2 separate regions of the Homo sapiens genome follow, and region 1 is linked to region 2. The links are contacts of gene promoters, found by promoter capture Hi-C in blood cells and fetal thymus (Javierre and others, 2016). All regions are on one chromosome and are shown on one strand. Each heading gives the region's core, a stretch centred on a gene start or on the middle of the fragment in contact. The rest is flanking DNA. Distances are from core to core; before and after follow the strand shown.

Evidence for each region. Contacts are between HindIII fragments. The CHiCAGO score rates a contact against its expected background, and 5 or more counts as called.
Region 1: a fragment that was not itself captured here is called in contact with the fragment with the promoter of OR5K2 in region 2 in 4 of 17 cell types (non-activated CD4 T cells, total CD4 T cells, total CD8 T cells and 1 more); the score reaches 5.8 in non-activated CD4 T cells.

Annotation. Positions count from the first base shown.
Region 1 is chr3:98,585,893-98,590,176 of GRCh38, reverse strand. It overlaps CPOX (coproporphyrinogen oxidase), which reads left to right. Exons shown (of 7, transcript NM_000097.7): 4 at 1,323-1,464. Among named protein-coding and RNA genes, the nearest start is that of CPOX, 5.6 kb to the left of the region's middle. The HindIII fragment of the contact is 8,070 bases long and covers 1-4,284 here.
Region 2 is chr3:98,495,784-98,501,521 of GRCh38, reverse strand. OR5K2 (olfactory receptor family 5 subfamily K member 2) reads right to left here and starts at 3,841. Exons shown (of 1, transcript NM_001004737.1): 1 at 2,891-3,841. The coding sequence starts at 3,841. The coding sequence ends at 2,891. The HindIII fragment of the contact is 17,047 bases long and covers 1-5,738 here.

The DNA of each region.
Region 1 (4,284 bases), core at 312-2,811, 91 kb before region 2:
GACTCCGTCTCAAAAAAACAAAACAAAACAAAACAAAAAGAATGGTATTGACTGACTCTAACCTTCCCATATTTCCTCCAACATAGAAGGAATGAACCTGAACTTTAGTGTGCACCCAGAGTTCTTTGCAAACATAAATTCATTACATCTGAAGGAATACCTTATGTACGAGGTTAAATTGAAATTGAGAACTTGCTTTTGGAAAATATTTTACATATGCATAGCTTTGCTAGTCACCAGGGCATTAGCAGTGGGTTTAAAATGGGATGCAGTTGATCATGCCTCCTGTGCACATAGTTCCAGCCTGTCTTTTATCTGATACTAGATGTCAGAGTACATGTGCAGTGCCACACCTATTCTTATTGGTGTCTCTGTAGGTGATGGCATTTAAAGTCACTGCTTTAACTTTTCATTTTGAAGCCATTCAGCTTGGTTCAACCTTTTATGTTTAAAGTTGGTAACTGGTATTGACAACTCATGGACCTGTGAGCACATGAAACAGTTATTCTCAAGTGGTAAGTTACCTCAGCAAGTGTTTTTACTCTTTCTAGGAAAGGGGAGGGGTTGGCAATGGTTCTTAATACAAGGAGTGTCAGAATCTCCTGGGGAGTTTTATAAACTACAGATTCCTGGGCCAGAGATGTGTGTGTGTGTGTGTGTGTTTATTGTGATCTAGAAGAGCTATTTTAAGCTCGTCATGTGATTCTTATATACAGCCAGAGTTGCAATCCACTTCCTGATCCACCAGTGTACTGTTTTATCATTCACTGCCCTGCATATCATTCCTTGCAAGTTCCACTGTCTTTCTTTCTTTCTTCTTTTTTCTTGTTGTTTTGTTTTGTTTTATTTTGTTTTTTGAGATGGAGTCTCACTCTTGTTGCCCAGGCTGGAGTGCAGTGGCGCTATCTCAGCTCACTGCAACCTCCACCTCCTGGGTTCAAGTGATTCTCCTGCCTCAGCCTCCCGAGTAGCTGGGATTATAGGTGACCACCACACCCGGCTATGTTTTGTATTTTTAGTAGCAACGAGGTTTCACCATATATTGGCCAGGCTGGTCTCGAACTCCTGACCTCAGGCGATCTGCCTGCCTGGGCCTCCCAAAGTGCTGGGATTACAGGCATGAGCCACCTCGCCTGGCCGCTTTTACCTCTTTTTTTCTGCCTAGGCCTTACTGGTCTTCAGAGCTAAAATCAGTTAAAATTTTTTTTATTGTCATCCATTTTATGCTGAAAAAATTAAGCTGCTAAATTAAGTGTCCTAATATAGCCAGTAATGCTGAATCTCAAAAGTCCACATTAGAATCCCATGTCTTGATTTGGTAGGCAACAAGCAGTGGTGGTTTGGTGGTGGATGTGACCTCACTCCAACATACTTGAATCAAGAAGACGCTGTCCATTTTCACAGAACTCTGAAGGAGGCTTGTGACCAGCATGGTCCAGATCTCTACCCCAAATTTAAAAAATGGTAGGTAAAGTTACTGAACTTTCATGACCCCAAAATTACATTCTGTTCCTTCTGAAGGCAACTATTATGTCACTAAATACCCTCTTCTGCTTATGAAAATGGAACTAGTTTTCTTACTTTGCTCATCAGAAGAATTAGAATACTGGTTTTAAGTGGTTGTATTAAATTATTTACTTAGAAATATTTAATATAAATTGAGTAGTAATATCTTTTTATTCCAAATGATTTAGAATGGTAGACTATAAACTATAAGGTCATCTATGCTTGAGAATGAGAGGCTTTTTAATCTGGAGTGGGTTGTTAAATTCTTATTCCAGATGAGAATTATTATTCCTGATGTTGACTTGGGAATGTCTAAGGGCATTGGAAGGGTTGGAGAACCACTAGAGGGAGATGCCAACATACCAGAGATTTTGGCCAAGGGGAAAGAAGAATTGGAGAATTTGTTAAAGAAATTCTAATGATAAAATAAGAAAACAAACAAAAGTTGGGAGAAGACCCAGAATATTTGTTATCATCAAATGGAATCTTGGCACAAATTGTTTGGAATATGAGTAAAGTACTCAATTCTGCTTAGAGCCAATTGGCATTCTTGAAAAAGGAAGGACAAAGAATTTTTGTCTTTTTGCTTTGTTTTTAGAGCTAATAGTTGTGGAATGTTAATATTTATGCAAGAGTATGGAGTTCAGCTTTAAAATCGTCAGGAAAGATGAAACATTTGAATATTCTCTTGATTTAATATTACTACTGAAAACTACACAGCCATGGATGCATGCAGATACTGGTTTTTTGTTTGTTTTTTCCTCTCTCTCAGAACTTAGCATCCTTCCAGGAGGACTAATAGAGTAGACAGTTCTCTTTTTTGGTTCCTTTTTCTAGCTATTACTGAGATGACTTTAAGCAGTGTTAGGTAATAAAATATCTAGGATGGTAGCTAGTTAAAAAGAAGTTTTTAGTATAAATGCTTTGGTTTGAATATTTGTTCCCTCCAAAACTCATGTCGAAATTTAACCCCCAATCTGGCAGTATTAAGAGCTGGGGCCTTTAAGAGGTGATTGGGCAGAGCCCTGATGGATGGATTAATCCATTCATGCATTAATGGGTTAAATTCATGGGAGTGGGACTGGTGGCTTTATAAGAAGAGACCTAAGCTAGCACGTTCAGCCCCCCACCATGTGATGTTGTGCACTGCCTCAGGACTCTGCAGAGACCCCACCGGCAAGAACACTCATACTAGATGAAGCCCCTCAACCTTGGACTTCTCAGCTTCCATAACTTAAGAAATAAGTTCCTTTTATTTATAAATTATGCAGTTTCAGCTATTCTGTTGTAAGCAGCAGAACACTGACTAGGAAATAAGTAGATCACTTAATTTTGTAATGTTTTAAAGAGAGATTTTGAAATAGTATGATTTGGGTTAAAAACTGACTTTACAACTTTACTCAGGATATACTTTTTTAGACTATGTTAATAAAATGTGCATATAAAGAAGGCCAACAAGTCACGATTAAGGTGAATTCTACCTATGCGTCAGTTCTAGGGATTTGCATCTGTTGTTTTTTGTTGTTGTTGTTTAAGCAATTGAAGCTGTATTTAAGGTAACCTTTTAAATAGCTTTTAGTTTTTGTTTGAGCATGTTTTTCTATTTAAGGACCCTTATGCAGAGATTATCAAAAGAACTACTTTTAGGATATAAACTATTTTACAAGTTTAACAGTTAGGAAATGGCTTCTTTTTTGTTTGTTTGTTTGTTTGTTTGTTTGTTTTTTGAGATGGAGTCTCACTCTGTCGCCCAGGCTGGAGTGCAGTGGTGCGATCTCGGCTCACTGCAAGCTCTGCCTTCCGGGTTCACGCCATTCTCCTGCCTCAGCCTCCCGAGTAGCTGGGACTACAGGTGCCCACCACCACGCCTGGCTAATTTTTTGTATTTTTAGTGGAGACGGGGTTTCACCGTGTTAGCCAGGATGGTCTCGATCTCCTGACCTCGTGATCCGCCTGCCTCGGCCTCCCAAAGTGCTGGGATTACAGGCGTCAGCCACCGCGTCCGGCCCAGGAAATGGCTTCTTAGGAAACCTGTTCTAGTAGTCATAGAGGGGAAAAGACTCAAGAACAGATTAATAGTTTTATGTGCTGCCTCACAGGGTAAACTTTCATATGTCTGATATGACATATGAAATAATAAAAGATATCATCTGAACCTTTTTTTCCACCAACTTTTCCCTGTCTTTCATGCTATAGAACCATCAAATTTTATTTCTGAAAGAGACCTGAGAGATTGTTTATAGTACCTTCCTTTGGTGAATAAAGAACTCACTCAAGAGAGCTTGGATTTGCACCATGGTTGGTGTCATTGTTAGTGGAAGATTCCTGTCCTCCTGCCTCCTACAAAAGCAGCAGTGCTTCCGAAGGCAGCAGCTTATTCCAAGAAATACACTATCGATATTGGACTGTTTCTCTTTTCACTAAAGTTCTTAGAGTTTCACATCCTTTACAGAGACTTGTGTGAAATTGCCTGTTCGCCTTGAAAATAAGAGGATAAGCAGCCAGGCATGGTGGCTCACGCCTGTAATCCCAGCACTTTGGGAGGCCGAGGCAGGCAGATCACGAGGTCAGGAGATCGAGACCACCCTGGTTAACACAGTGAAACCCCGTCTCTACTATAAATACAAAAAATTAGCCAGGTATGGTGGTGGGCACCTGTAGTCCCAGCTACTTGGGACGCTGAGGCAGGAGAATGGCGTGAACCCGGGAGGCGGAGCTTGCAGTGATTCAAGATCGCACCACTGCACTCCAGCGTGGGGGACAGAGCAAGAGTCCGTC
Region 2 (5,738 bases), core at 2,592-5,091:
GTGACAAAGGAGAGCATGCTTCCAGCTGGAGCTGAGTCCAAGCACACAGCCACTCCTGCACACGCATGCGTGCAAACAGGGAAGCCCAAGTAGGAGAAGAGGAAAGAGGTTGTAGGGATTTGGGAAGAACCTTGATTATTCCCTGGAGGAAAAGACAAATCTACTTCCCTGAAATCACCCTCGAATCTACTTCCACCCTCAGAACTTAAAATGAACTGCATCCTTTTTTTCATCTTCTTTTCTTCTCCAGTGAATATGATCTCCAAACCCTTATTTTTTCTTTGAACTGTAAAATTTCCACTCATGGACGATGCAACCAACAGATGCAATCTCTGAGAAGATGAAAATTGGGACCTCTTATTATAAAATTGACCTAGCTGGACTCAGGAAACCAGGGAAGAAGTCAATGCAGGCATTTAAAATGTAAAGTTTTTTCTGGTTAAATCTATTTATTTTTCTTGTAGGTTGAGTATTTCTTCCCAGTTTTTCTGCTCTGGTGTATAACAAACAGGTCAAAATTTCCCATCTTTCCTCCTGATAGTAGTTGAATCCTACCTTGCATACTTAATGCATAGTGAAATGGCATCTAGCAGAAATACACACCCCCAAAACACACCACCATTTCATTAGGTGCCCAAAAAATTCTGTATTTAGCTTATTTATTTATTGTTATTTTTGCTTTTTCTTAACCCACTATATATTGACTGCAAACGAATTAATAAATTATCCCTTCTGGAACTTTTTGGTCTTTTCTTTTTTTTAATGTTTTCACTATAAAAGGTAAGCTGAAACATTGAGAAATTGTTCAAATCAGCATATTTTATAATTCACAACTACAACTTGGTAAATATTTTTACTGTAAGTAAGCACTGAAATAATGAAGTATGATGAGAGGCAGTAGTTTTTAATGCAAAGATGCAAAGTTATAAATTTAAATGTTCAGAGGGGCCAGGGAGGTGACATAAGAATTGTTGCCACTTTTTCAAGAAAAGTCAATTTTTGCTTTTATAAAAATTTTTAATAAAAATTTTAAATAAAAATTCTCCTGATATTTAAATTTCTTAAAATTAATTTTCCAAAGAACACTATGCTGTTCTGCATTGCGTGGGATAAACGATTCTGTGCAATCTCTGGGTGACCTTTTGTGATTTCTTATGTAATAATTGAGAATGTAGTTTTTGTAGTCAGGCAGCCTGGGGTTCAGGTCATGCAGACTCCTGTGGGTCACTGAACAAGTGACTCAACCATACTGTGCTTCATATTCTCACCTGTCACAAGGGATAATAATTGCAATTCTTTCACAGGATTTATGAGGGTTGGATGAGGTAATGTGTATACACAGCTTAGCACATGGACGCATAGTAAGTATCCAAGTACATTTGGTGATGCTGATGGACGTGCATTAGGCAAAAACTCAACTGATGGGGTTTAAATTTGAAACAGGCAAGGAAATACTGAAATGTCTGAGTATAATTGGAATGAACTAGGTTAGGTTTTCTTGGAGGTTACAAATATACACTATATTTTTATAGTTTTTCATTCATGATTTAGGGAATTATATCTAGAAATATATCTGTTTTCTACTCCCTTTTCTATATAGACTCAGCATGCTGATTTTCCATGTGATGCCAGCCTCTGGTGGCTGGCTAGCTTGAGGCCCACTGCAATCTGACAACTGCCTTCTGGAAATTTAGATGTGACCACAGAGCATCAAGAGAGGAGGTGGAAGGGAGAATTTTTCTGTTACTTGTTATGGGTCCTCCTTGTTCCAGAAGTTAGTAATTAAAATAATGGCAATGTTCTATTATTTAAGAAGATGAAAAGAGTGGTGTCTTGGTCATTAATATGTCTCAGCATCTAGAACAGTGCTTGCACATAGCAGAATCTCAATAAATATATGTAGAGTGAATAATTGGAAAGTATCTCTTTAATGATGTCACATAAGATTATTAGGTTCTATCCATATTAAACGACTTTAAGTTTTGCAATGGTGAAGGAATAAAAGAAAATATTTGAGATAAGCCCTGTCCACAGTCCCACAATCACACTTTTTTACATGTCTGTATATAATATACCCAAAGGTTGTGTCTCCATTGTTTAACCCCTTCCTCACCTCTCAGGAATGGGCACAGAGAAGTTTAGCCTAACTCACTGACAATGAAGGCTCTTCAGATCTACATGAAGTTTGAAATGTTTGTCTAGAACTTTATGATATGGTATCTTTATGCATGTAGGTTTTGGAGTAAATAAAACTTAATGTAACCTATCTTGAAATTTGACATTCTGATTTTAATTATTTAAATGTTTAAATCATTTAACAACAACTTCTATTTGGAAATATAATATTCACTTTTATTGGCACAATCACTTCCTGACTACCTCATTCTAACTACAATAATGTCCCCCACATGCTATTACATTTTCTTCCTCAAAATTCACTTGCCATTTTTGTTGCTCATGGATATAAGTGAGTTCGTTGGTTGACTGTTCACATGATCTTAAACACTTAACTGTAATGCACATGTTGTAAGCTATAGAGTGGGCTGGTTATCAAAGCCCGCTTTGTAAATGGTATGGCTTTTTATATTTGTAACTGGTAGTTTTGCTGTTGTTTTGGGTGTTGATCATCATTGATACTAACACAGTCTATAGGCATGGTGGCTTTCTACATTGCTGCTTGAGTGAATTCAATGTCTGCATGTGCTTTTAAATTCTGAGTAAATATTTAGCACAGTTCACTCCTTTCCATGAATTTTCCCTGTCACATATTTCTGCTTAATTTGATTGTATTTTGATATGTTTTAATATTTTGTATACAATTAGTACACTTCCTCTGTGTAATTTTATTTAGAAGTTTTTTGAGCATTAAACCATTAAGCTAGGATAGATGTCATTTGTTCACACTTCCTTGAGATTTTATTTTCAGCAGAATTTTTCTTAAGACACTTATTACTTCCTTGTTTCTCAGACTATAAATGAAAGGATTTAGTAAGGGAACTACTATTGTAAATAAAATAGCAGCTGGTATATCATTACCTCCTTCTTCAAGCAAATTTGGTCTAATGTATAGGAAAAAAATAGATCCATAGAATAATGAAACTGATGAAAAGTGGGATGCACAAGTAGAAAAGGCTTTGGCCCTTCCCTCCTTGGATTTCATTCTGAAAATAGTAAGAAGAATATAGAGATAAGATATTAAGACACTACCTATGGTAAAGACTTGAACTGAACCTGAGAAGATGAATAGAACCAGTTCATTGATGAAAGGGTCAACACAGGAGAGTCTATACAAGGGAAGAGTATCACAGTAAAAGTGGTTGATGTGATTCAATCCACAGAAAACTAACCTAAATACAAGCCCTACATGAATCATGGAATGCAGATTTCCAGCTATGAAGGCGCCTGTGGTCATCTGAATGCAGAGTTTCTTGGACATCATGATGTGGTACTGCAGTGGGTTGCAGATGGCCACATAGCGGTCATAGGCCACTGCTGCCAGAAGAAAGCAGTCTGCAGTTTCCACAGTGCAAAGAAAATAAAACTGTACTGCACATTCATAGAGGGAAATCCTTTTGCCCTCAGAAAAGAAGTTCTCTAACATTTTGGGGGTAATAGCACAGGCACAGCAAGAATCCACAAGAGCCAGATTTCCCAGAAAGATGTACATTGGTGTGTGAAGCCGACAGTGTGTAAATATCAGTGCCACCAAACTAATATTCCCCACCACGGTGATCAGATAGATGGCAAAGAACACCACAAACAGCAGAGTCTTCAGCTCAGGGTGATCTGTAAATCCTGTGAGGATAAACTCATTTTTCATGGTATGATTTTCTTCAACCATTCCTGACCTCTCTGAAAAAAATTGTAGAGGAATAAGGCACTAATTAATAATATGCCACAATTATTGACGTCTCTTTGGCTTAAAAGAAGGAGAGCATCTTCCACAATGTCTCCTCATCTTGCCTGGAATTTGGTGCATGCCCAATTCACTGCGAGAATGAGTCTCCTGAGGCTACTACTTTTGTGGCTATTGGTTGAACATGTTTCTATCATATTTTGAAAAAATATCTGATTGGGTGCACAAGGATGACTTTTGAGGTCTTGAGAGAAATATTGAGAGCACAGAACTTCTCCATATAGTATAGGTAAAGCTGATTCGTAATTTAAGTGTCAGTAATTGGTACCAGTGTTCCCGATTTCAATGTTTGTATATGTAGTGGTTAACAATGTGTTTAAAAGACTATTTTTGTATGCTAATGTTAACAGCAGCATTACCTTCAATAACCAAAACGTAAAAACAACCCAAATGTTCATGGACAGGTGAATGGATAAATAAATTGTGGTGGAATATTACTCAGTCTTAAAAAGGATTGAAATTCTCATACATGTTACAACATGGATTAACCTTGAGGACATAAGGCTGATTGAAATAAGCCAGACACAAAAGGACAAATATTGTATGATTCCAATTACATGAGAAAGCTAGAGTAGTCGAACTTACAGAGACAGAAAGTTGAATGGTAGTTGCCAGGGGAAGGGGTCTACTGGGAGCTATTGTTTAATGGGTACAGTGTTTCTGTTTAGGAAGATGAAAATGTTCTAGAGATAAATGATGGTGATCATTCCACAACAATATTAATGCACTTAATGCTACTGAACTGTACACTTAAATATGACTAAAATGATAAAAGTTATGTTGTGTATAATTTACCCCAATAAAAATATTTTTAAAATACTATTTTCATCTGCCTATTTCAGCAAATTACTATCTCCAATACTAGTGGAATATACACTTAAAAATAAGATGCTCTGGGGGAAAAGGGAATATTTATAAGATATTTATATTCCTGGGAGTTGGGGAGTAAAAGTGTTATGGATGGAAGCTGGGAGAAAAAACAAAACACTGCATTTAAAAAGTCTGGTGAGCACAGTGGCTTATGCCTGTAATCCCAGCACTTCAGGAGGCTGAGGAGGGAGCATCACTTGAATCCAGGAGTTCCAGACCAGCCTGGGCAACATAATGAGGCCCTGTCTCTTAAAAAAAAAAATAAAGTATATAAAATTACCAGGGCATTGTGACATGCTCCTGTAGTGCCAGCTACTGGGGAGGCTGAGGTGAGAGGATTCATTGAGCCTGAGAGATGGGGGCTGCAGTGAGCCATAATAGCATCACTGCACTCCAGCCTGGGTGACACAGCGAGACCCTGTCTCAAAAAAACCAAACCAAAACCAAAAAGCCTCCTATGTTACTAGTGATACTATGAGTAAAACTACTTATGTGCATAAAGAAATTAATGTTATTAAAAGCAATTGGAGAAATCCTGAGTTAAAAATATATTCGGTTGTCTAACTACGTATCAAAAAATTATGAATAAAATGTCAAACTGGGAGATTATCTGCAGTAAATTTGATAAAGTTTCTGTACCTTTGCTATAAGATCTCATACAAATGAGTAGGAATAATTACTAGAAAATAGGTAAAGCCCAGGAATAGAAAAATCTCAAAGAAAAAAACATTTTTAAGTAAATTAAAAATGTTTGATTTTATTACTAATCAGAGAAACACCATTCAGAAACACCTATGAAGCTATATTTATTTTGTATATGAAAATAAGATTAAAAAACTGATAATATTGAGCGTTATCTAGAATATAGTAAAATGGCAACCTAATTGCATTCCTGGTAAATGTATAAATTGGTGTAATCATTAGAAAATAATTTGGTAATAGATTAAAGAAA